Linked DNA regions of Homo sapiens: all the other regions are linked to region 3. Evidence: promoter capture Hi-C in human tissues and cell types (Jung and others, 2019). All regions are on one chromosome and are shown on one strand. The core of a region is centred on a gene start or on the middle of the fragment in contact, and the rest is flanking DNA. Distances in the headings are between cores, read along the strand shown. Region 1 holds the start of ARHGAP33 (Rho GTPase activating protein 33). Region 2 holds the start of KMT2B (lysine methyltransferase 2B). Region 3 holds the start of CLIP3 (CAP-Gly domain containing linker protein 3). Region 4 holds the start of IGFLR1 (IGF like family receptor 1).

Region 1 (6,227 bases), core at 2,307-4,806, 260 kb after region 3:
TCCAGGTGAGCACAGGCCCGCAGTTGAGGTTACTGTCCACCAGTCCTGACAGTGTCTCCAGGTACTGCAGCAGCAGTGGCACCAGCATCTGGGGGCAGGTTGTCAGAGTGGGCCTCTGTGAGTGGACGTGAGAGAGCCCACTGCCCTCCCACACTGCCCTAGCTCGTCTCTGGGCTGAAGTTCATCCTGAACACATGGGTGCTGCTCAGCTGTTAGGTACTGAGATATGGGCATATGAATGAATAAGCAGGCTGGGCCAAGCTCTTGAGTACCCTGGTTGGCATGACCATGGTGACCCTCCCATGGGACCCCCTGGAACTCCCCATGATCCTAAAACTTAGCAAAGCTAAATGTAGCAGAAGCCTACTACGTTTCTAAGGCTTCTCCATTCATTCAGATTGGTTGGGACTTGGGCCATACCAGTATTTAAATATTTCTCTATCCCGCTGCCTTGATGATTTCACACTGTGGATGAGGACACACTCATGAGGCAGGGGCTGAGACAACAAGCAGGTTACCTGGGCAGCCCTGGCACCCTCGGGGGGCGGGGGAAGCTCCGGAAGGCAGGAGAACCTCCGGTCAAATATGCACCGGTGGAGGTGGGCATCCAGGGAACGAAAGTCATCGTAACTCCGGAGAACCGGCCAGGAACGGCCCTGTGGGAGCAGAGGGACAGAAGGGAGCAGGGGCCCCATGACACCGAGCTGAGGACTACAGTGGCCATTCTCTCAGGCTAGATGAGAGGCGGGATGGCCTCACCTGACAGGTCACCTGCACCCCGAACACCAGCTCATTCTCTCCAGAGAGGCTGGGCCCTTCACGGTCTGGAGACAGCAGGAGCTGCAGAGGGAAAGCAAGGCCCAGGTGGACTTTTGTCCCAGTCCTGACCTCCTGGGGATGGCACTATCTAGGGACGGGTTTGTGACTCCCTTCTGGACCTCCCCGAGGACAGGGCCTGGTGATGTCCTGGTCCCTGACATAGAGCAGATACCTAACAAAAGTTGTTGTTGAATGAATAAAAGAACAAATGGATGAATGAATGAGCAGCTCTCCCCATCTGCTGTGGCTCCTGCAACTTTTGCTACTGACTGCTCAGACGCGTGCAGCAGCCAGTCACAGGGATAAGTTTCAGAAGCAAAGCACCTGATATCGTTGCAAGGTTGGGTAGGATATTGTCTTCCCTCCTGGGTGCAAATGCAAAGCCCCCATACCTGAATGTGGCCAAAGTCAACGTTCTCGTAGTGGAAATGGGCGCAGTCAGCCAGCCGCGGGAAGGGGCCTCGAGGAGCTGAGAGCCTGGGAGACAGGGGATGCGTCACCAGCAGCTCCTTGAGTCTCCCCAGCTCCTAGCTGAGCCCTTTCCTCCCTCACCCTCACCTCTTCCCAGGCTTCCCCTTCACACTGGGCCCCCCAGCAGTGGGTAGAGGCTGCACCGAGCCCTCCCCTGGGCCATCCAGGCTGTCAGTGCTGCGTGCCTGTAGAGCAGAAAGAATCAGAGGCCCCCAGAGATGGGAGCAAAGAGACAACGAGAGCATTGTTATCTGGCAGCGCGGGTCCAGAGCCCCGGGCGCTCCACACACCGCCCTGAGCATGAAGCAGGATGGCAGGTCGGGGGAGGTGAGGGCTGGGCTGAGGACAGGACTGCTTCTTCGTGTGTGGTCTGGGGTGGGGGACTGGAGAAGCAGGGGCCAGACGTGAGGCGGGGCAACAGGATGGAGAGCATGCTGGTCCCATCTCTCCCTGCTGAAAACCCTTCCGTAGCCCCTGCAGAGTACAGTGATCTCCTACCACTGTCTAGACAATCACAACTCCCATCTCATCAGCCTTCCTGCTTCCAGCCTCTCCCCTCCTGCCAGCTTTTCCGCAATAGCCTGGATCGTTTTCAGAAAACACAAATCTGGCTCTATTTCTCCATAGATCCTGGGCCTTCAATGACTCCCTGTTGTCTTCAAGACGAAGTCTGAATTCTCTGGTCTGATAATCGAGACTTCCCTGAGCTGATTTCTGTTTACCTCTCCAGTCCCATCTCTTCCCATTGCCCCCACTCTCAGAGCTCTTGAACTTCTAAGAGTCCAAAAAAAGCACCCTCTTCTCATTTCCTTCTAGGCCTTTGCAAAGGCTGTTCCCTCAGCCTGGAACACTCGCCCCACCTTTCCCTGGGTACATTCATCCTCACTCCCACCCCTCAGGTCCCAACTCACATGTGCCCTCCTCCAGGAAGTTCTCCCTGACCCTTCAGGCTGCACCTGGCATCTCCTCTGGACTCTCTCCATCCCCTGAGGTTCCCCCATCCCAGGTTCCATGCCTTGACCAGAGCTTCTCCCTTCACAGCTCTGATCACTCTGAGATGGCACTGGTGGTGACAAGTTCATCTCTCTCATTGGACTATGACCGGCCTCCCAGAAGGAGGGCCCCAGACTGAGCTCCCCAGCATAGAGCTGGGCATTGAGTTGGTGTTCAGACATGATTGTTCCTGATTCTTTTCTGGGTCCCCAGTGCCAGCCCAGTCGCGCGCAGCAGGGACTGGGTAAAATCTGATGAATAAATTAACCAGCTGCCAGACAGATTCACTGGGCTGTAGCGTCTCCCTGCTCCATGTCCCTGCAACCCCCAGTCACCCTCAGGGTCTCACCCTCAGGGTCTGTCCCCCTCCAGCCCATAAGGTTCCCCAAGGCAGGATGGGAGCTGACTCTCTCTGTGCCTGGAGCGTGGGGCCTGCACAGAGGCGGTCTCAGTGAATGTCTGCTAAGTGAGGGAATGAATGGATGAATGAGCGGGAGCAGCATGGTGGGAGAGGGAAATGGTGGGGGAGGGGGATGAGGACAAGGAGATGGAGCAGACCCGAGGATCAAGGGAGGTACAGTGCTGGCCTGTTGGGGTGGAGTAAGGAAGGAGTGGCTGGAGAGACGAGGCAAAGGCTCAGACTGATGCGGGGCGGGGGGGATTGAGAGGAACTGGGATAGGGTGAAAATGAGGGAGAAGGAGAAGAAAAGGGTCAGGCTGGGGATGGAGCGGGTGGGGGGTGGGGCTCGGGAATGAGAAAGGGGCTGTGGGGAGGAGGAGGGGGCTCCGCCGGGGAGGGCTGAGGGCTGGCAGAAGGATGCCGAGGAAGGTGCTGGGATGGGAGCTGGGGAAGGACCCAGGAGCCTCAGGAGGCCCCTGCAGGGGCCACTTGGGTGGCGCGGGTCCCTTCCTGGACTAGCCCCGCCTCCTCCCAGCCCAGGCCCTAGGTCCCTGTCACCCCATCCAGGGCGTGGAAGACGGGGATGCGCGCTTAGGGGGCGGGGTCGAGGTACGGGCTGGGACCCGGGATGGGGCCGCAGGACGGGAGGGACCACGGCTGAAGCACAGGCCGCGGGATCGGGCGGGGCCGGGGGCGGGGCGCGCGGGGCGGGGCTGCGCACGGACAGACTGACATCCGGACGGACAGGCTGACGGCCGCGTGGGACCCTTACCACCATGGTCGCGTAGCCTCCTCAGGCCCCGGCCGCGCTCGACCCCTCGCTCGCCGTTCTCGTCGCCGCTGCCGCCGCCATGGCGACACAAAGGGGAGGGCGCGAGCCGCGCGCGGGCGGCTGCAGACCCCGCCCCTAACGGCTGCCCGTGGCTCCGGCGCGCGCCCCACGGGGGCGGGGGGCAGCGGGAACGCGGCGCTGCTTCTCATTGGCTCCGCCCTTGGCCTTAGGCCGATGCCCCGCCCACCCGGAGGCTTCTCATTGGTTTCACCTTGGGCTCCGCCCCGGCTCTGTGTCCTCGGTCCCGCCCCTCGAAGTTTGACAGCGCCACGCCCATGACTGCTTTTCATTGGCTGTCATCGCCCTCCTGAGACAAGCCCCCAGGTTCTTTATGCTTTGCTTCCGACACTTCCAACACCAAGCAATGGACCCTACCTTTCGTCCACTCCCAGTGTCCATTCTTCTGACTTTTTTATTTTTATTTCTTTAAGAGACAGGGTCTCACTCTGTCGCCCAGGCTGGAGCGCAGTCCTGCAATCGTGGCTTACTGCAGCCTCAACCTCCTGGGCTCAAGCGATACCTCCCATGTAGCTGGGACTACAGGCGTGCGCTACCACGCCTGGCTAATTTTTTTTAGACATGGGGGTCTCACTATGTTACCCAGGATGGTCTTGATCTCTGGGGCTCAAGAGATACTCCCTCCTCAGCCTCCTTTCAAAGCGCTGGGATGACAGGCGTGAGCCACCACGCCAGCCAGCCCCTGATAGTCTTAATTGGATTCTCCCACGGCCTCAGAGCAGTGCCCAGTTCCTTAAGCAGCTTTTCAAAGTCCCAGTCCCAAGTCTCACCTTTTCAGTCCTGATCCCGACCCCGCTCACATAATGCCGAGGACGCTCCGCCCATGGACGTTTCTCGTTGCCTCATATACCTTGCCTAGGACGTAACCCGAGGCTTTCTGCGATTTGGCCTCCCCTGCCCACTGGACATTTTCTTGTTTCCCCTTCTACTGCTTATTACGGGCCAATCTCCAGCCTTGATTTTTTTTTTCTAGGAAAATGCTTAGGGGGAAATGCCAGATCATGCTTATGCCCCCCATAAAGCCATTCCCAATGGAGCCTGCTAATACTGAGCATGCCCAGATAACACTGTAATAACGCCCTTCACAGGAGGGTCTCTCCTTAGTCATGCCCTCAACAAATTCTCATCTCAGAGGGTCTTGGTCTGTTCATTCATTCATTCATTCATTCATTCACTCAAACTCTAATCAATTTGTACATACATCAACAACCAAACCAGGAGAAAATATACCCTGCCCACATTGGAGCTCAAAAGCTACTGGGAGAAGACAATGAACAAAATTAACATTAAACAAAATATAGAATATTAGGCCAGGCGTGGTGGCTCACGCCTGTAATCCCAACACTTTGGGAGGCCGAGGCGGGCAGATCACTTGAGGTCAGGAGTTCGACACCAGCATGGCCAGCATGGAGAAACCCCGTCTCTACTAAAAATACAAAAATTAGCCAGGTGTGGCGGCGGGCGTGCCTGTAATCCCAGCTACCTGGGAGGCTGAGGCAAGACAATGGGTTGAACCCAGGTGGCAGAGTTTGCTGTGAGCCGAGATCGCGCCACTGCACTCCAGCTTAGGTGTTGAAGTGAGACTCTGTCTCAAAAAAAAAAAAAAAAAAAAAAAAAAAAAGCTGGGGACAGTGGCTCACGCCTGTAACCCCAGCACTTTGGGAGGCCGAGGCGGGAGGATCACAAGGTCAGGAGTTCGAGACCAGCCTGGCCAATATGCTGAAACCCCGTCTCTACTAAAAATACAAATATTAAAATTAGCCAGGTGTGGTGGCGTGTGCCTGTAATCCCAGCTACTCAGGAGCCTGAGACAGGAGAATTGCTTGAACCCAGGAGGCGGAGGTTGCAGTCAGCCGAGATTTTGCCACTGCACTCCAGCCTGGGAGACAGAGCAAGACTCTGTCTGAAAAAAAAAAAAAATATTAGAAGGTGATTCATTCTATGGAGAATAATTAAGCAAGGGCTGGTGAAAGGGAGTGCTGAGGGAGAGGTGAATGTGCAGTTACTTATGTACTAAATTTGCTGACCTCACTCTCATCACAGGGATTTCCCACACGATATTCCTTCTGTCTAGTGTTTCCCCATCAACCCCTGCAGTGATTTTTTTTTTTATTTTTTAATTTTTCTGGGTACATAACAGGTATATTTAGGTATATATATTGAGGGGGCACATGAGATGTTTTGATACAGGCATGCAATGTGTAATAATCACATCATGGAGAATGGGGTCCTGCAGTGATTTTAAAACAGCTGCAAATTCTCTGACACTCTTCTTATCAAGACGCGGACTCTATGATTGCTTTCTATGAATCTGGGTGGGACTAGGATAGCTTCAACCAATAGAAAACAGTGGAAGTGACACGGTGATTTCTAAGGCTATGTGATGAAAGGCAATGCAGCTTCTTGACCAATGTTCTCGTCCACTGGAATGAGCTGTAGAACCATGGTGCATCATATGCGAAGTGTGACTATGCTGAAGCAGACATGCTTTGAGGAAGCCCAGGCCAATGGAGCTATGTATAGGCATTAGTCAATAGTCCCAGTCAGACTGGGAGAAGACCACGGAAGAAGTTCTGGAGGATTCTACTCCACAGCCATCAAGTCTATCAAGTCACCTTTGAGTCTTTCCAGGTGAATCCCCAGACATCATGGAGGAGACAAAAATTGTCCCCATATGAGCCCTGTCCAAACCTC
Region 2 (5,734 bases), core at 1,582-4,081, 310 kb after region 3:
TGGGAGGAGAGGTGCCCTCTGGCCCTGCCCGAGCAGCTTCCCGCTCCGCCCGCTGGCTGGGAGTCAGGGGAGGCCGGCCCCTCTTCCTGGAGCACGTAGCTGGGACCACAGGAGGAGGGGATTCCTCCTGCTCCTCTTGGGCAGGAGGCGGTGGAGGGGATGGTAGAGGTGGTGGGGACACTGGGGGTGGTGGTGGAGGGCAGAGTGGGGGTGGAGGAGATGTCGAAGGGGGTGGGAGGGGTGGAGGAGGTGAAGGGGCTGGAGGAGTCAGAGGCGGTGGTGGCAGCTTTGCCTCTTCCTTTTCCGCAGCTGGCATCATCTCCTCAGCTACAGCTCTTTCTTCCTTCTCTTCTCCCTCCTTGTCTTTTTCTTCTTCTTCTTTCTTCTCTTCTTCCTCGTCATCCAGCTTCTGTTCCTGCTTTTTCCAGCAAGGGCTCCCTCCCTGTCCAGATCCAACTCTTCTTTGGGGGACATCCTGCCAACTTTCCTCATGTTGACCTTGACCTTGACCTGATTCGAGTCCCAAGGACAATTGTCCCATCTTTACTTTTTTGGCCCTTGAAACAAACTTGATCACAAAGGGGAGCCCACCACCTCGGCCGCGGCCCCTGCCTCCACGGCCTCCACGGCTTGACTGTCCTCCACGCCTGGGGGTCCCAGGTCCTGGACCGGGCCCCTCCTTGCATTTCCAGCTGCCAGTCTGATGTTTCACTGGAACCACAGGAGGTGGGGGCTCAGGTTTGGGGATTGTCACAGCTGCTTCTGCCACCACTACTGCTTGCTGCTTCCTCCTGCAGGGGCCTGCTGGCCGTCCTGGGGGCCGTCCCCGAGACCGCCGGGGGGTGGAGGGCTCACATGCCCGGCTCCGGGGTGCTTGGGGTGCCTGGGCCCGCCGGAGAAGTTCAGTCAGTGCCTGCACCATCCGTTCTGTGCCTTCCTCACCCCGTTTCCGGGCAGGGGTCTTTGGGGGGGTAGGAGCCACATCTGCTAGGCGAGGAGGAGGAAGGGGGGTCGTCTTATGCTTGCGACCCCGACCTCGGGGCGCTCGACCTAAAAGGAGAATAGTTGTGGGGAGATGGATCAAGCCAGCCCTACACACAGAGGAAGGCGCTCCAGGAGGGCAGGGACTAAGTCTTGCTTGTGTGTTTCCCCCGCTGCCCAGACTAGCTTGGACTCTGAACACAGAACACATTCGGCAACTGACAGAGGCTAGTTGAACAGGGAAGAGCTGACACGAAGGGCGAGGATAAATTCCTGTGACGCTAAAGAGGTGGAGTTCCCCCGTCACTCACCTCGCTGGGATCGGAGCGCAGAGCGCAGGGAACTGGGGGCCACATCTTCATCTGAATGAAAACCCTGAAACTCCTGATTTAGGGGACCGGGGTGGAGGGGAGAAACAGCAGTCAGTGCCAAAGCCCTCGTTCCATCTGAGGTATCGAGGAATATCCCCAGTTCCCACTTAGCATACCCCTGCCTATTTAAAAAGAACGAAAAAGACTCAAAGGTCGCGGGTAGTGGAAGAGAGGGTCTCTCCCTAGGGATGGAGGCGCCAGGTATTTCGAACTCCGATCCCCAGTGCCGGACCACACCAGCACAGCCAAAGCCATGGTTCACTGGCCCAAGAGAGAAGACGACAGGGTCTCCTCAGGAAAGGCAGCAGGCCCCATACTCAGATTCCTTCAGAGTCCAATTCAGACCAAAGTGGGACCTCCACTGACACCCTTTCGGGCCACAATTTATTTCTGCATTAAGTTGGGAACAGGGGCCCGCAAGTGAAGGGGCGGGGAGGGCATCAGATGGCTTTCGTACAGGCTCCACTGCGAGCTCTCAGGTTGTTATTAACCGTCCAGGGCAACGCAACCCACACCTTCCTGCCTGTTCTGAAAGGCTGGGGGAGAAATCCTGAGCTGAGCTCTGACCTGCTAGAGTGCCCAGTCCCGGCCTTCATCCCACTCCTGTTCAACCCGAGCCCCAAGAGGAAGCCCTCCACCACTCTACCTGAGATGCCAAGAGAAACTGGGGCCCTGGAGAAACCAGGAGGTTGCGAGGCCCGGCGGGGCGGCCCACAGGTAAGAGCCCAGACAGCTCCAACCTGTCTGCCAAGGCCACGCTGCCGCTGTCAACCACGACTGGCTGGACATGCAGTCCCCACTGCCTCCTCGCCCAAACCTCCACCGCCCTAGCTTTGCCAGCTGCCGAAAAGGATCGGCCCAAGACACTTCAGCGGGACCGACATCGGGCGCGAGTGCCTGGCTGCAGCCGGGGCTTCTCTACCCACTTCCAGAGGCCCTTTCCCCCGGAAGCTGCATGCAGCCGCCCTCCCTCCGTGCCCCGTCTCTCCGAAGGAACCCTGAGGACCCGGCCTGCCCACGCCGCCCCCGGGACAACCCAGACCCCTGGAAGCCCCGGCCTCCGCCCCACCCGGCGCCGGGGACGCCTCCAACCGCCTCACCTCCTCGTCGGATTCCCCGTCACTGCTCTCCTCCTCCGGCACGCAGCCTCGACTCGGGCCCCAGCCCCGGCCCCGACCCCGTCCCCGGCCCCGCTGGACCCGCGGGCCGGCCCACAGGCGGCGGAGCCGGCGCAGGCCCCGGCGGAGCCCCAGCAAACGGAGCAGGGCCGTGTCCTCCCCGGGCTCGGCTCCGCCCGGCCCCGTCGCGCCACCGCCGCGCCGCAGAGCTACCCGCACTCTTTCGGCCCCGTTGCCCCGTCCGCCGCGGCCCCCGCCCCCGCCGGCGCCCCGCGGCCGGCCCGGGAAGCGGCCCCGCGCGGAGCCAGGCCCGGGGCAACTGCCGCCGCCCGCCGCCGCCGCCATCTTGGCACCGTGAGAGGGGCCGGGGAGGCGGGGGGAGGGGCGGCCCGTGCGCAGGGCCGGGGGGAGGGGAGAGAGCGGGGGCGGGGCGGGGCGGCCGCGGCGCACGACAACAACCAGCGCCGCCGCGGGAGACCGGGGGCCGGGCCGGCCACGCGCAGGGCACCACGGGAGAGGGAGTCCGCGGCCGGCCGGCGCCCTCGGACCGCACCTGGGGAGCACAGACCCCCGCGTCGCGGCCGCAGAGGGGCGAACCGCGGGGGCCTCCGGGAAATGTAGTCCGGACGCCTCGCTTCTTCCGCCGGCAGCCAGGGCGCGAGGGCCGGGACGGCGGGGTTCCCGGCCAGGACCCGGAAAGCGGGTTGCCGGGTCTCCGGGAGGTGTGGTCCTAGCCCCAGGCTCCTCCCATTGTTCTTGGCTAGGCCGGCGGCCCGCGTGGACTACCACTCCCAGGGTGCCGCGGGCTCGGGCCCCGGGACCCCCGAGGCCCTGGGAAATGCAGTTCGCGGCTGCAGGAGGCGTGGGCTGGAGAAGGAGCGGTGGAAAGCATAGTCAGTCTCCGTTCCAGGCGCGACCTGGCGGCGGCTTGGCACGGTGTGGAGGGAAGACGCCGGAGAGGCCGCGGTCTCGGGGTCCGTGTGCTCCCGGAGAGGAGGCGGGTGGCCGAAAGCAGGGTCGGAGCACGCGTTCCTCTCTCTCCCGGGCCGAGCGTTCCCAGATCAGACTCCGCGCGCCGTGGATTGCAGTGGAAGGGGCGAGTGACTTGCGGTCGCACAGCCCCCACCAGTCCAGGACCGGCATGCCGCAAGGTGTGCCCGGACACCGAGTCCTCGGGGCCGGCTGCCTCCTGGGGAGGACGGGGCGCCTCGGGGGTGGAAGAAGTGTCCATCCCGCTGGACAGCGGACGCAGGGCCACCAGGGGCCGCTACAGGACAAGGGGCGTGGGCGGGGGTGTGCACAGACTAAACTCGGCTTTCTAGTCCTGAAGGGAGGGCACAGGAAACTCTTTATTATGGTGATGAGATCGACAATCTCCCCTACTGTTAACCTTCGCTCCTGCACACTTCAGTGTCCTCACTCTGTAGGGCTCGCTGGCCTGGGCTTCTGCGACCCGCGATCGTCCAGGAGAGGGCACTCGGCGCCCTTCCTGGGGCGCTTCTGGGGCGGAATTTGCTAGGCCGCCGTAGCAGCGGTGCCAGGTCAGAAGCCGAGCCGGCCCGCTTTTCGTTCTTTAATTGGACTCTTGGCTAAGACGCTACCGACACCCCGTCAGGTGGTGGAGGAAGAAGGACAACAGGGAGAGGTCGAGGGCCGAGACGGCCTCGAGGAGGAGTAGAGGAAGGTGGAGCGGATGGTCCATCCGGGCGGGAGTTGGCTGGGCGAGTGACCGCGCATGTGCGCCTGCATGGAGGCCAGGCTGGGACAGCCGGCCCCGCACAGGGAGCAGCGGTACGGAGCGGCCCCGTGTGTCCGCAGGTGCTTGGTCATGGCCGAGAAGTCCCGGGAGCGCTGAGGACAAAGGCTACAGGAGAAGGGCTTCTCTCCTAGAGCGGTCGGAAGGGGAGGCCGGTGAAGGAAGGAAGAAGGCGGCGAAAGCTGGCCAAGTTAGGGGTGGATCGGGCCACGGGGCTAGGGGATTGCGCGGGAACCGGGCACACAGGTGGAGACTCAGGAGCGGAGTTGGGAAGAAAGCCGACAGTTCACACAGGGCAGGGCGCCCATACCTGTGTGGACTCGGTAGTGCGTCTCCATCTGATGCTTGAGTGAAAACCTCTTTCCACAGACAGAGCACGCATAGGGCCGAGACCGAGCAGGAGGGGCCGGGGGAGGGTGCGGGCGAGGTGGGCAGCCTGCCTTGTCCTCATGACCCGCACAGGTTGCAAGTGCGCCTGTGGGGACAGAGAAGGCAAAGGAGGGCAGGGCCAGGAATCCCAGCGCCAACTCACTGTACCATTCAGGCAGGAAATCAAGGGCTACAGTGGGGCTGAGGCACGAGTGCCCCCGCCCGACTCACCTGTGTGCCCCTGATCAGACTCTTCCATCTCCCCAGGGCTGAGCTGTGCGGGGCCCTGGGGGAGGGAACCTGGAAGGAACAGTGGGAGGTAGGGGCCCTGCTCAGGCTGGACTCCTCGAGCCCCAGCCCAGAGAAGACACCATGTTACAGGTGTATGCAGGACAGCGAGGGGCTTACCTGGGGTAGGGCTGGAGGAGGCCAACTGGTTCTGGCTCCAGAGCCCTTTGGGGGCATTTAGGGACAGTGGGATCCTGGGATGGGGTGGGGAAGAGTTACAGCCTTGGCTAAACCTGGGAGCCTGGCCCCTTCGTGAAGAGGGGGTATCCCAAGTCCTCCCCCGGGGGCTGGGCTTTGGCGTGCCCTGTGGCAGCAGCTTCTTGTCTCTTCCCCAGCTCAGGAACTGTGCAGTAGAGATGCAGTGCCCTTCCACCCAGCAGGGCTGCCCCTCCTGGGCCATGCCCTCCCAGCCTGGAGGCAGAGCACTAGACCCCGCCACTCACCTCTGTTCCCGCCAGACCTCCTGCCAGGCTCCAGTGGTGGGGGTGCTATGGTAGAAGGGAATGCCATATCTGGGCGGCATCAGCAGGATGCTCCACAGGGCAGGCTGGCCCCCCACCAACCAAGGGGCCTCAGCCCACGAGGGCCTAGGGGTGACGCTGGTTTGCAGGGAGCCTGCTGGGGGAAGGGGGCCAGGGAGCTTGCGCAGACTTTCCTCAGAGCCCCCTGGATTTTCCCTCAACCACGTGAGCACTCCATGCTTCCCATCTGCTCCCCTTTGGCCAACAGGGGCTTGGAGGCGTTTCTCCTTTGACCTGGTCTGTTCCTGCTGAGCCTCCTGCGTTGCTCCTGCCATCTCGGGTCTGCCTCTTGGTGGCGAGTGCTTGTGCAACATCTCCTGTTCTCTCCCA
Region 3 (5,878 bases), core at 292-2,791:
AGGTTGCAGTGAGCAGAGATCATGCCACTCCACTCCAGCCTGGGGAACAGTGAGACTGCCATCTCAAAAAAAAAAAAAAAAAAGAGCCAGTGCAAAGGTCCTGGGGTAGGGAGAAGCAAGGAGGCCAGTGTGGCTGGGGTGGAGTGAACAAAAGAGGGTGAGAGGAGGTGAGTGCAGAGATGATGGGGCAGGTTCACATAGGCCCTTGTGGGCCATGGCTGAGAGCCTTGGCTTCTACCTGGAGTGAGGTGCAGCAGGCAGACCCCTCTGAGGGAAAGAGGGCTCCAAAGTGACAGGTGTTCATGGGTCCCTGTGGCTGCATGTTGGAGGAGGACGGGGACAGCAGGTAAGAGGCTGCTGCCGTAGTGCTGGTGGCAGAAGAAGAAGGATGGACCAAGATGAGGGCCCAGGGTAGCGGTGGGGAGAGTGAGATCCTGGAAATCTTTTGGAGATGGAGCTACTGGACCTGTGCATTAGAAGGATGAGGTGTTCAAGGCTGTCACCCAGCCCCATCCAGGCTGGGATGATTTGAGGCAGAGCAGGCTACAGCTCCAGGTGGGAAGCCAAGCCATGACAATGGAGCCAGGACCCTGGGCTGGCTTCAGGAGGCCTCCGTGGGGAAGATACAGGTTCTGAGAGAGTTGGAGGGGTCAATCGGCAGATCTGTTTCCCAGACACTGCTACAGGCATGTAGCATGGTGATTAAGAATCAAAGCTGGGCATGGTGACTCGTGCCTGTAATCTCAGCGCTTTGGGTGGCAGGGGCAGGAGGATCCCTTGAGGTCAGGAGTTCAAGACCAGCCTGGGCAACATGGCAAAACCCTGTCTCAAAAAAAATTCTCCAGACATGGTGGCATGCACGTGTGGTCTCGGCTACTCGGGAGGTTGAGGTGGGAGGATGGCTTGAGCCCAGAAGTTTGACGCTGCAGTGAGCCAAGATCACAACACTGCACAGTAGCCTGGGTGACAGAGTGAGACCCTGTCTAGGAAATAATAAAAATAAAAATCAGACTTTACAGACTGTCTGGTTTCAAATGTTCGCTCCATCACCTACTCATGTACTTTTGGGCAAGCTGCTTAACCTCTGGGCCCCAGTGTGTGAGCCTCGCATTATGATGGTAAGGATGAGATGATCATGATAGGAGTCTCTAGGAAATCACCCCTCTGAGGCACCCATTATGAATGGTGAGCTTGGAGAAGGGGTCCGGTCTAGGGTCCTAGAGAGAGGGTCCCCTAGAGGGTCCCCATCGTCACCACGCCCCAAGACCACTGCCCTCACCGGCCTGGTTTGCAGGCGTGGGGGAAGGGGATGGAGAAGATCTGTGTCCGCTCTCTCAGCCCTCTCTTTTGCCGTTGTATCTGCTCATCTCGCTCCTTTCCGTAGCCATCTCTTCCTCTCCCAGTGCCCGGAGGCTCTCCCCTTTCAGTCGCCGCCTCTGGCCCCTCCATCAATGCGAGCGCCTCCCGGTCCCTCCTCCTGGTCCCTCCTCCCCCGCCGCCGGTAGGGGGGCAGCAGGCGCATGCGCAGTCGCGCCCCTCCCTCTCCGCCCCCACCCCCTGTCGGCGTCTGGGCCTCGTCCCCTTCTCTCTGTCTCCCTTGCCTCCCCCATCACGTCCCCTGACACCGACACCCCATTGCTCCCACAGTCTCCCCAGTCTCCACTTTGGTCCCCAGCGCTGTCTGCCCGAGGTAAGATGGGGAGGGGGCGGCCCGCGGAGAAGGGGAGGGGCGAAGCATCCTGAATCCCGAGATAAACAAACCCGGGGAGGGGGCAGCCGCGACTGAGGGGCCTGACGCGGGAGGAGAAGAATGGGGGGCTGGGCCTGGGGGAGGTGGCAGGCGCTGGGCGCACACACCGGGGCCCTCTATGGGTAACGGGGGTCCCTATGGTTGCCCAAGATCCAGTTGCGCGGAGGCCACCCGGGGCCCTGGAAGCTCCTAGGGGCTTGGACCCTGGAGCCTGCCGGGCACCCTCTCCAGCTGACCTCTGCCTCCAGGATTTGCCTGAAGGCTGCCCCCAACTCTGCACCCGCCCCCCGAGGGCCACCGAGGACCATGACTAAGACAGATCCTGCCCCGATGGCCCCGCCACCCCGAGGAGAGGAGGAAGAAGAGGAGGAGGAGGATGAACCCGTCCCCGAGGCCCCCAGCCCCACCCAGGAGCGCCGGCAGAAGCCTGTTGTGCACCCCTCGGCACCTGCCCCCCTCCCTAAGGACTACGGTAACCACTGTCCCCACCCTGGAATCTGGCCTGGAGCGTTGGGTGGCCGGGGAGGGTGGGCTGTGCTCTGCTGGTGGTGATGGTGGGAGAATTCTGGGGAATTTGAAGGTGGTCCAGAGGAATCTTGGCTGCAGAGCACCCCTCGTTAATTCATTCATTCACCCATTGGAGAATGGAATTGTAATACTCCTAGTCTTTGACTCATGACACATCATTCCATCATTTAGTCATTCAACAATCATTTTTTGAAAGCGGCTGTGGACCTGGCTTTATGCTAGGGGCTGGGGCCACAGCAGGGGGCAAGAGAGACCCAGTCTTTGCCCTGAGACAACTCACAGGCCTCAGTAACAGCCACACAAATAGGTATTAAACCATAATGTAATTTTTCACATTTAGGTTTATATGCAAGAAAGAAAAATATAATGTAATATAAATATGTAATTACAAGACATTATGAAAATTGTATTTACCATAAACAAGCTGCTGCAAGAGTTTTTTAAGACATTGTTTCCCTGAGGAGGTTACAGTTGAGAAGACTGGAGGGTGAGTTGGGGTTAACTAAGAGAAGGGTCAGGGGAAAGGGCTCCCAGGAGAGGTAACCGCTGGGTAAAGGATCTGAGGTAGGAGGGTATGGAGCTGAGAGGGCGGCCTCTTGGAGAAACTGAAAGTGTCTAATCATTGACCGAGCGATATTTATCGAGTGCTGCTACTCTGTGACAAGCCTTATGCTGGGTGCCGGAGATTTAATCCTAAGTGATCCAGGCATGATCCTCCCTTGCAGGAGAGAAGGAGAGACTAAACAAGTGAACAGATAAATAAATCAGAAATCAGATAAATTCAGATTGGAGCAAGTGCTATGAAAGAAAGAAAAGGTGGGCTGGGCATGGTGTCTCACGCCTGTAATCCCAGCACTTTGGGAGGCTGAGGCCAGCGGATCACCTGAGGTCAGGAGTTTGAGACCAGCCATGGCCAACATGGTGAAACCCCATCTCTACTAAAAATACAAAAATTGGCTGGGTATAGTGGCATATGTCTGTAATCCCAGCCACTCGGGAGGCTGAGGCAGTAGAATCGCTTGAACCTGGGAGGCAGAGGTTGCCCAAGATCGAGCCACTACACTCCAGCCTGAGTGACAGAGTAAGACTGTCTCAAAAAAAAAAAAAAAAAAGAAAAAAAAAAAAAAGAAAAGAAAAAAAGAAAAAAGAAAAAGAAATTAAAGGTGGAGATACGATAATGACTAGGGGGCAGCTACCTGCAGGGGTAGTCAGGGCTGCTCTTTCTGAGTAGGTAACATTTAGTTTGGGACCCAGAGCATGGGGAGGAATCAGCCATAAGAGAGCTGGAAAAAGAGTGTTCCAGGCAGACAGCAGCAAGTGCAAAGGCCCTGAGGCAGAATTGAACTTGGAACAGAAAGATCCTGGAGCTGCATTCAGGGAATGATCGAGGTTGAGGTGAGAGGTTGGCATAGGCCAGATCTGGAAGGGCCTTCAAGGCTACAGTGAGGACTTTGGTTATATTCTAAGTGGGACAGGGGAGAAGAGTGGCAAGGGGAGGGTGTTTAAGAGCAGAGGAGTGGCAGGTCTGATTTGTAGTTTGAAAGCTCCCTCTGGGTACTGGGTAGAAGGGGATGGAGTGCAGCCAGAGTTGGATGTAGGAGGGGAATTTGGAAGATATGCAGGCTGGGAATCCCCGGCAGCTGTGAGGTTCAGAAACCAGGTTCAGAGAGTCAGCGTTGCCAGGATAGAGCAAGACAGATGGCATCCATGGACATGTCACCCACTAGAGGTAGATCAGGGAGACTACAAGTTGACTTCAGTCTAATAGAAAAATAAGAAAGTTGGCTAGGCACAGTGGTTCTGGCTTATAATCCTAGCACTCTAGGAGGCCAAGGTGGGAGGATTGCTTGAGGCCAGGAGTTCGAGATCAGCCTGGGCAATGGAGCAAGACCCCATCTGTACAGAAAATTTAGAAATTAGCCAGGCATGGTGGGTACCTGTAGTCCCAGCTACTCCAGAGGCTGAGGTGGGAGGATCACTTGAGCCTGAGAATTCGATGCTGCAGTAAGCTAGGATTGCACCACTGCACTCCAGCTTGGGTGACACAGTGAGACCCTGTCTCAAAAAAAGAAAAAAGTAAAAGGAAGTTATCTGGGGCCTGAGGTCGGGGGGGTGCTGTACCTCAGAAAACTGGAAAATCTCCTTTGGAAATGCAGCTGGAGGTGGCTGGGGCCTCTGACTCAGTGGGAGGTCGGAGGGTATAGGCTGAGCCCTCCAAGCAGTCTTGCTTGTAGAGCGGGAGAGGTTTTGTCCCAGAATGTGAAGAAATCTGGAAATGTGGTCGAGGACAGGGAGAAGGCTAAGGTGGACTCCAAGAGGAAATCATGTATCTGTTAAATTTGTACATTAATTCAACAGAGATTGACTGAGCACCTACTGTGTGCCATGTGCTGTGCCTGGCCTTGGGGATAAAGGAGTGAATGAGGCAGAATAGAATCATAGCATTTAGATCCTAGTGAGGGAAGAAGAGAGGAAATGAAGGAGGGAGAAAGAGGAGTAAACATGTCAAGTAGTGATATGAGCTATGATAAAAATAAATAAATAAATAAAGGGCTGGGCATGGTGGCTCACACCTGTAATTTCAGTGCTTTGGGAAGCCAAAGTGGGAGGATCACTTGAGCCCAGGAGTTCGAGACCAGCCTGGGCAACATAGCAAAACGTTGTCACTACAAAAAAAAAAAAAATTGCTGGGCATGGTGATGTATACTGTAGTCCTAGCTACCAGGGAGGCTGAAGCAGGAGGATCACTTGAACCCAGGAGTTCAAGGCTGTAGTGAGCTATGATCATACTATTGCATTCCAACAGACCCTATTTTTTTTTTTTTTTTTGAGACGGACTCCAGGCTGGAGTGCAATGGTGCAATCTTGGCCCACTGCAACCTCTGCCTTCCGAGTTCAAGCGATTCTCCTGCCTCAGCCTCCTGAGTAGCTGGGATTACAGGCACTCACCACCACGCCCAGTTAATTTTTGTATTTTTAGTAGAGATGGAGTTTCACCATGTTGGTCAGGCTGGTCTCGAACTGCTGACCTCATGATCTGCCAGCCTTGGCCTCCCAAAGTGCTGGGATTCCAGGCGTGAGCCACCATGCCCAGCCAAGACCCTATCTCTAAAAAAAAAAAAAAAAAAAAAAAAAAAAAGAGTAGGAGATGGAGAAGGGCGGGTGCCGATTTAGACAGTGTGGTTTGGGAAGGCCTCTCTGAGGAGATGACATTTGAGCAAAGATTTATAAAGCTTTGTGAAGATGTGTGGGAAGTCTATCCTGAGTGAGAAGAACAGCAAGTGCCAAGACCCTGAGACAAGAATTTGCTTGGCACGTGGGAGGGACAGAGGGAGCCCAGTGTGGGAAATGAGGGAAGGGGAATAAGTGAGGGGAGAGGGCTGAGAACTGAGGGGCTGGATGTGCAGAGCCCTGAGGGCCGTGGGGAAGACTTTGGTCTGTACTCTGGATGGGTTGGGAGCTGGAGGAGGGTTCTAAGCCAAGAAGGGCTATGATGTGACTGCAGTTCTAAAAGGAGCATGCCGGCTGATTCCTGGAGACACCTTCTATGTGGCACTTCCCTGGGCTGTGTATAATCTGATCATTCATGTAGTCGTTCAT
Region 4 (4,916 bases), core at 1,104-3,603, 290 kb after region 3:
ATGATGCTTAGGCTGGGGTGTAAGGTTCCACCCCCAACCTTCATGCCTCACTCTCTGTTCATGCAGCCCTGCCCTCTGAGCTCAGGCCCCGCCCCTTTTAAATTCTGTGCAGACCATAGTGCTGCTCAACCTGTACCGGAATCCACAGAACACAGCCCAAACTGCAGACGGATCACACTGTGAGTAAGGGACCAGGCCTGGGGGCAAGGTGAACAGCCCCCAGTAGGCTACACTCTGATTCCACCCTGCCCGCCCCCACCCCAGGTCATGTGAGTGACGTGGAGGTGCAGGAGCACTATGATAGCTTCTTCGAGGTGAGGGTTGGTAGGGGCAGATGGGGTTTCTTGTGGGAGCTCAGCTGAGTTCCTCCCCGTCTTCCACAGGAGGTGTTCACAGAACTGCAGGAGAAGTATGGGGAGATTGAAGAGATGAATGTGTGCGACAACCTTGGGGACCACCTCGTGGGCAACGTCTATGTCAAGGTGCTTGCTGCCCCCCACTTAGGGCCCAGAAGTGGAGGCGTTTCAATGCCTGATGGTGGCCACTGTAGGCTCTCAGCTTGAATTTCATCACTAAATCCAGTCCAGCCCCAGAGCGGGTAGTGAGTCCCCTGAAGATCTCTGAGTTCTCCTGCTGACCCTGACTGACATTTCCTGCAGTTCCGGAGGGAGGAGGATGGAGAGCGGGCCGTGGCTGAACTCAGTAACCGCTGGTTCAACGGGCAGGCTGTGCACGGTGAGCTGTCTCCTGTCACTGACTTCCGGGAGTCATGCTGTCGCCAGTATGAGATGGGGTATGGTAGTTCAAGGGTGGGATGGGCACTTGGAATCCCAGACTTTGAATGCGTGGTAGGGGCTGTCAGTGACAATGGCTTCCTCCATCTCTCTACCCTCTATGCAGGGAATGTACCCGAGGTGGCTTCTGCAACTTCATGCATCTGCGGCCCATTTCCCAGAACCTCCAGAGGCAGCTCTATGGGCGGGGACCCAGGCGCAGGTACCTCAGGACCAGCCTGCTATGTCTCCTCATGTCCTAAGGCCCCTATATCCTCAGATGAGCCTAACCCTAAGCCCCAGTAACCACGTTCCCAAGAATCTTTTTTTTTTTTTTTTTTTTTTGAGATGGAGCCTCACTCTGTTGCCCAGGCTGGAGTGCATTGGCACCATCTTGGTTCATGGCAACTTCCGCCTCCCGGGTTCAAGCAATTCTCTGCCTCAGCCTCCCAAATAGCTGGGATTACAGGCACCTGCCACCATGCCCGGCTAATTTTTGTGTTTTTAGTAGAGATGGGGTTTCACCATCTTGGCCAGGCTGGTCTGAACTCCTAACCTCGTGATCCACCTGCCTCACCCTCCCAAAGTGCTGGGATTACAGGCGTGAGCCACCACTCCCGGCTGACTGTTTTTTTTTTTTTTTTTTTTTTTTTTTTTTGAGACGGAGTTTTGCTCTTCTTCCGCAGGCTGGAGTGCAAAGGCGCAGTCTTGGCTCAGTGCAACCTCTGCCTCCCAGGTTCAAGCAATTCTCCTTTCTCAGCCTCCCAAGTAGCTGGGATTATAGGCACCTGCCACCATGCCTGGCTAATTTTTGTATTTTTAGTAGAGATGGGGTTTCACCACGTTGGCCAGCCTGGTCTCGAACTCCGGACCTCAGGTAATCCACCCATCTCGGCCTCCCAAAGTGTGGGGATTACAGGCGTGAACCACTGCGCCCGGTCATTCCCAAGACTCTTATACCCTAAGAGTAGTTCTGAGCTCCATCTGGAGACCAGTACCTAAGTCCCAATCCCCAAACCAGCCTGAACCCCTAATCCACGACCAGCCTGGATTGCCACCCCTGATACTGGCCACTGAGTTCCCCTGATACTGGCCACTGAGGTCGTGTCTTAGAACTCTAGTTATTTCAGCACCCTCCTGCCTCATCCCAGAGCAGAGAGGCAGGCCTGCAGGATCTCTGCACCACTCCTCAGGGTTCTAACAGAACTCTCAACGCTCCTATTCCCAGGTCACCCCCGAGGTTCCATACTGGCCACCATCCCCGAGAGAGGAACCATCGGTGTTCCCCTGATCACTGGCATGGCCGCTTCTGAGGCCCTGGCCCCCTTACCCTTCACCCCCAACAGGGACAGATGTTCCTGGCAGGACCTCTCCTCAAAGCCCCCTTCACTCTCCTGCCCCATCCTTCCCAGGCTCCCGGGCTCCATAATGTAATCTGTTCAGCATGGAGACCTTCTTCTACCGCCCCTGTCTTAATAAAGCTGCGTGTTTCACTTCGGCATCAACTTGCTTTTGCTGTGGTTTGGCATTTCCCTCCACCCACACATGTGACGAAAAGGGGAAACAAGACTGGGTCCTGGCCACAACTTCAGCTGAGGAACTTGGCACGGCCAGCTTGGGACCCAGGACCCTAACGGTACTGGTAGGGTGGGGACACCTTTGTGCTGAAAACCTTAGCACCTCCATCTGAGGCTTATTCAAGGGGGAGAGACCTGGTTGTGGCAGGTGGGAGGAGCCCTAGCCCCAAGGAGATTAGGATTCAAAGGTGAGGTGAGGTGCTGGGAGGTGGTCTCCAGCCAGTATGGGGCTGACTCCTCCGTGCCTGCCGAATTGTGATGGGAGTTAGTAATGCCTTACACTTAAACACTGAGTTTACTGTATGTGAGGTGCTGTTTTCAGCACTTTAGTTTGTTTTTGTTTTTTTTAAGGAGTTTCATTCCTGTTGCCCAGGCTGGAGTGCAATGGCACGATCTCAGCTCACTGCAGCCTCCACTTCCCAGGTTCAAGCAATTCTGCCTCAGCCTCCCAAGTAGCTGGGATTTACAGGCATGCGCTACCACGCCCGGCTAATTTTGTATTTTTAATAGAGACAGGGTTTCACCATGTAGGCCAGGCTGGTTTTGAACTACTGACCTCAGGTGATCCACCCACCTGGGCCTCCCAAAGTGTTGGGATTACAGGCATGAGCCACTGCGCCCGGCGGCCAGTTTTTTTTGTTTTTAGAGATGAGGTCTTGCTGTGTTGCCCAGGCTGGTCTGTAATTCATGGCTCAAGCAATCCTCCTACCTTGGCCTCCCTAGTAGCAGGGACTACAGACGTGAGCCACTGCACTTGGCAAAGTGCTTTGCTGTTTTTTTTTTTTTTTTTTTTTTTTGTAAAGATGGGGTTTCATTTTGTTGTCCAGGCTGATCTCTCGAACTCCTGGGCTCAAGTGATCCTCCTGTCTTGGCCTCCCAAAGTGTTGGGATTACAGGCATGAGCCACCACACCCAGCCCCTGCTTTACTTCTAATGACGGTTCTAATTCTCCACAATAACCCTATGAGACAGGTGCTATCATTGTCTTATTTTAGGGATGGAAAAGGGAGGGTGGGTGGGTGAGGACACGGCAGAGGTGGGATATGCATTCTTGCAATCTAGATCCGCAGCCCTGTTAGTCCCCTAGTGGCCTTGTGGGCTTCTCTGATAACCGGCTCAGTTGGGGGATGAGGGCTCGGGGGTAGATTCCCGGCTTCCGAAGAGGCGTGAGAATTCTGTTCCCCCACATCACCGCGTCCTTTCTTCTGCCCGATTTCCCCGGAAAGTGTAGCAGAGGCGCTGTGTTTGGAAGTCCCGCTATCACGGCCCCCCAGATGGGGCCTGGACGATGCCTCCTGACGGCCTTGTTGCTTCTGGCCCTGGCGCCACCGCCGGAAGCCTCCCAGTACTGCGGCCGCCTTGAATACTGGAACCCAGACAACAAGTGCTGCAGCAGCTGCCTGCAACGCTTCGGGCCGCCCCCCTGCCCGGGTGAGAATCCGAGACCGAGCCTTGCTTGGGCGGAGCTTGCAGGTGATAGGGAGCGGGGAAGGGGCGAGGTCTGTGGGCTACGGGCCAGAGAGGCTTGCTTAGGGGTCTAAGCGGTGGGCCTTATGCAGATCAGACAGGGATGGCAGGCAGAGCCTGTGCAGATAGTGCGGGCTACCGTAGGGCAACAGCGAATGGATATGGCTGGAGAGGCGGGATAGGGGCCGCGTGGAAAGGGTGGGCTTTATGTAGAGAAGCCGGGAGTGGGCGGAGCTTCGTGCGGAGCAGGCTGGAGGGGGGTGAAAAGGCGAGCCCGGAGAAAAGTGACAAGACCGGGGCGCACGCTAATAGGCTGGAAGCGTCCTGGAGGGGCGGGGCACGCTGGGATAGGGCGAAGGGAGAGGGCGTTGCCCGCGCAGGGGCGGGCTAGGCGGCCGCACTGGAGCGCAGCTTTCCCGCTAGACTATGAGTTCCGGGAAAACTGCGGACTCAATGACCACGGCGATTTCGTAACGCCCCCGTTCCGAAAGTGTTCTTCTGGGCAGTGCAACCCCGACGGCGCGGAGCTATGTAGCCCCTGCGGCGGCGGAGCCGTGACCCCTACTCCCGCCGCGGGCGGGGGCAGAACCCCGTGGCGCTGCAGAGAGGTGCAGATGGGACTCCCGGCAGGGCAAGGGCGTGCTGGAGGTGGGGGGCCTAGATGTAGGGAGCCGGCGTAGCCCCACGTAAGGGGTGGGGCCGTGGTTTCAGGAGGTGGCTGGCCTGCAGGGGTCGGGAGGTCCTAGGTTAAGGTAGTTGGGCCTTGCGGGGCCCAACTACCTTATCAGATACCGTATCAGATGGGATGTGGCCCCATTAAAGGATATAAAGTTGGGAGGTTTGGGAGCGGGCAGGAGTGGAGTGTGGCCTCCAGCTTTACTCCAACCCCTTATCCCCAGAGGCCGGTCCCTGCCAAGGGGCACTGCCCCCTCACACCTGGAAACCCAGGCGCCCCTAGCTCCCAGGAGCGCAGCTCACCAGCAAGTTCCATTGCCTGGAGGACCCCTGAGCCTGTCCCTCAGCAGGCCTGGCCGAATTTCCTTCCGCTCGTGGTGCTGGTCCTGCTCCTGACCTTGGCGGTGATAGCGATCCTCCTGTT

The links. Contacts are between HindIII fragments. The study calls those that stand out against the background at their distance.
Region 1: a contact is called between the fragment with the promoter of ARHGAP33 here and the fragment with the promoter of CLIP3 in region 3, in 1 of the 25 tissues and cell types used here (pancreas).
Region 2: the fragment with the promoter of KMT2B here is called in contact with the fragment with the promoter of CLIP3 in region 3 in 3 of the 25 tissues and cell types used here (IMR-90 fibroblasts, spleen and thymus).
Region 4: the fragment with the promoter of IGFLR1 here is called in contact with the fragment with the promoter of CLIP3 in region 3 in 5 of the 25 tissues and cell types used here (aorta, liver, mesendoderm cells and 2 more).

What each region holds. Positions count from the first base shown.
Region 1 is chr19:35,772,893-35,779,119 of GRCh38, reverse strand. It overlaps ARHGAP33 (Rho GTPase activating protein 33), which reads right to left and starts at 3,556. Exons shown (of 21, transcript NM_001366178.1): 1 at 3,456-3,556; 2 at 1,378-1,475; 3 at 1,212-1,296; 4 at 760-840; 5 at 519-656; 6 at 1-88. The coding sequence starts at 3,461. RefSeq lists enhancers at 213-1,097, 1,098-1,983, 4,005-4,064 and a silencer at 3,295-3,774. The HindIII fragment of the contact is 39,613 bases long and covers 1-6,227 here.
Region 2 is chr19:35,715,100-35,720,833 of GRCh38, reverse strand. KMT2B (lysine methyltransferase 2B) reads right to left here and starts at 2,831. Exons shown (of 37, transcript NM_014727.3): 1 at 2,453-2,831; 2 at 1,293-1,365; 3 at 1-1,050. The coding sequence starts at 2,815. It overlaps ZBTB32 (zinc finger and BTB domain containing 32), which reads right to left. Exons shown (of 7, transcript NM_014383.3): 3 at 5,327-5,734; 4 at 5,004-5,077; 5 at 4,827-4,895; 6 at 4,537-4,701; 7 at 3,796-4,356. The coding sequence ends at 4,082. RefSeq lists silencers at 2,397-2,446, 2,497-2,576, 2,617-2,686, 2,707-2,756, 2,837-3,316 and enhancers at 2,042-2,599, 3,887-4,166, 3,719-4,278. The HindIII fragment of the contact is 20,092 bases long and covers 1-5,734 here.
Region 3 is chr19:36,028,536-36,034,413 of GRCh38, reverse strand. It overlaps CLIP3 (CAP-Gly domain containing linker protein 3), which reads left to right and starts at 1,541. Exons shown (of 14, transcript NM_015526.3): 1 at 1,541-1,690; 2 at 1,999-2,222. The coding sequence starts at 2,057. The region is part of intron 3 of LOC101927572 (a long non-coding RNA gene); the gene reads right to left. The HindIII fragment of the contact is 12,641 bases long and covers 1-5,878 here.
Region 4 is chr19:35,739,889-35,744,804 of GRCh38, reverse strand. It overlaps IGFLR1 (IGF like family receptor 1), which reads left to right and starts at 2,353. Exons shown (of 5, transcript NM_024660.4): 1 at 2,353-2,409; 2 at 3,582-3,781; 3 at 4,241-4,425; 4 at 4,717-4,916. The coding sequence starts at 3,625. It overlaps U2AF1L4 (U2 small nuclear RNA auxiliary factor 1 like 4), which reads left to right. Exons shown (of 6, transcript NM_001040425.3): 3 at 384-482; 4 at 660-793; 5 at 901-996; 6 at 2,002-2,278. The coding sequence ends at 2,086. RefSeq lists silencers at 675-835, 4,138-4,267 and enhancers at 2,171-2,600, 3,948-4,057, 4,405-4,916. The HindIII fragment of the contact is 13,678 bases long and covers 1-4,916 here.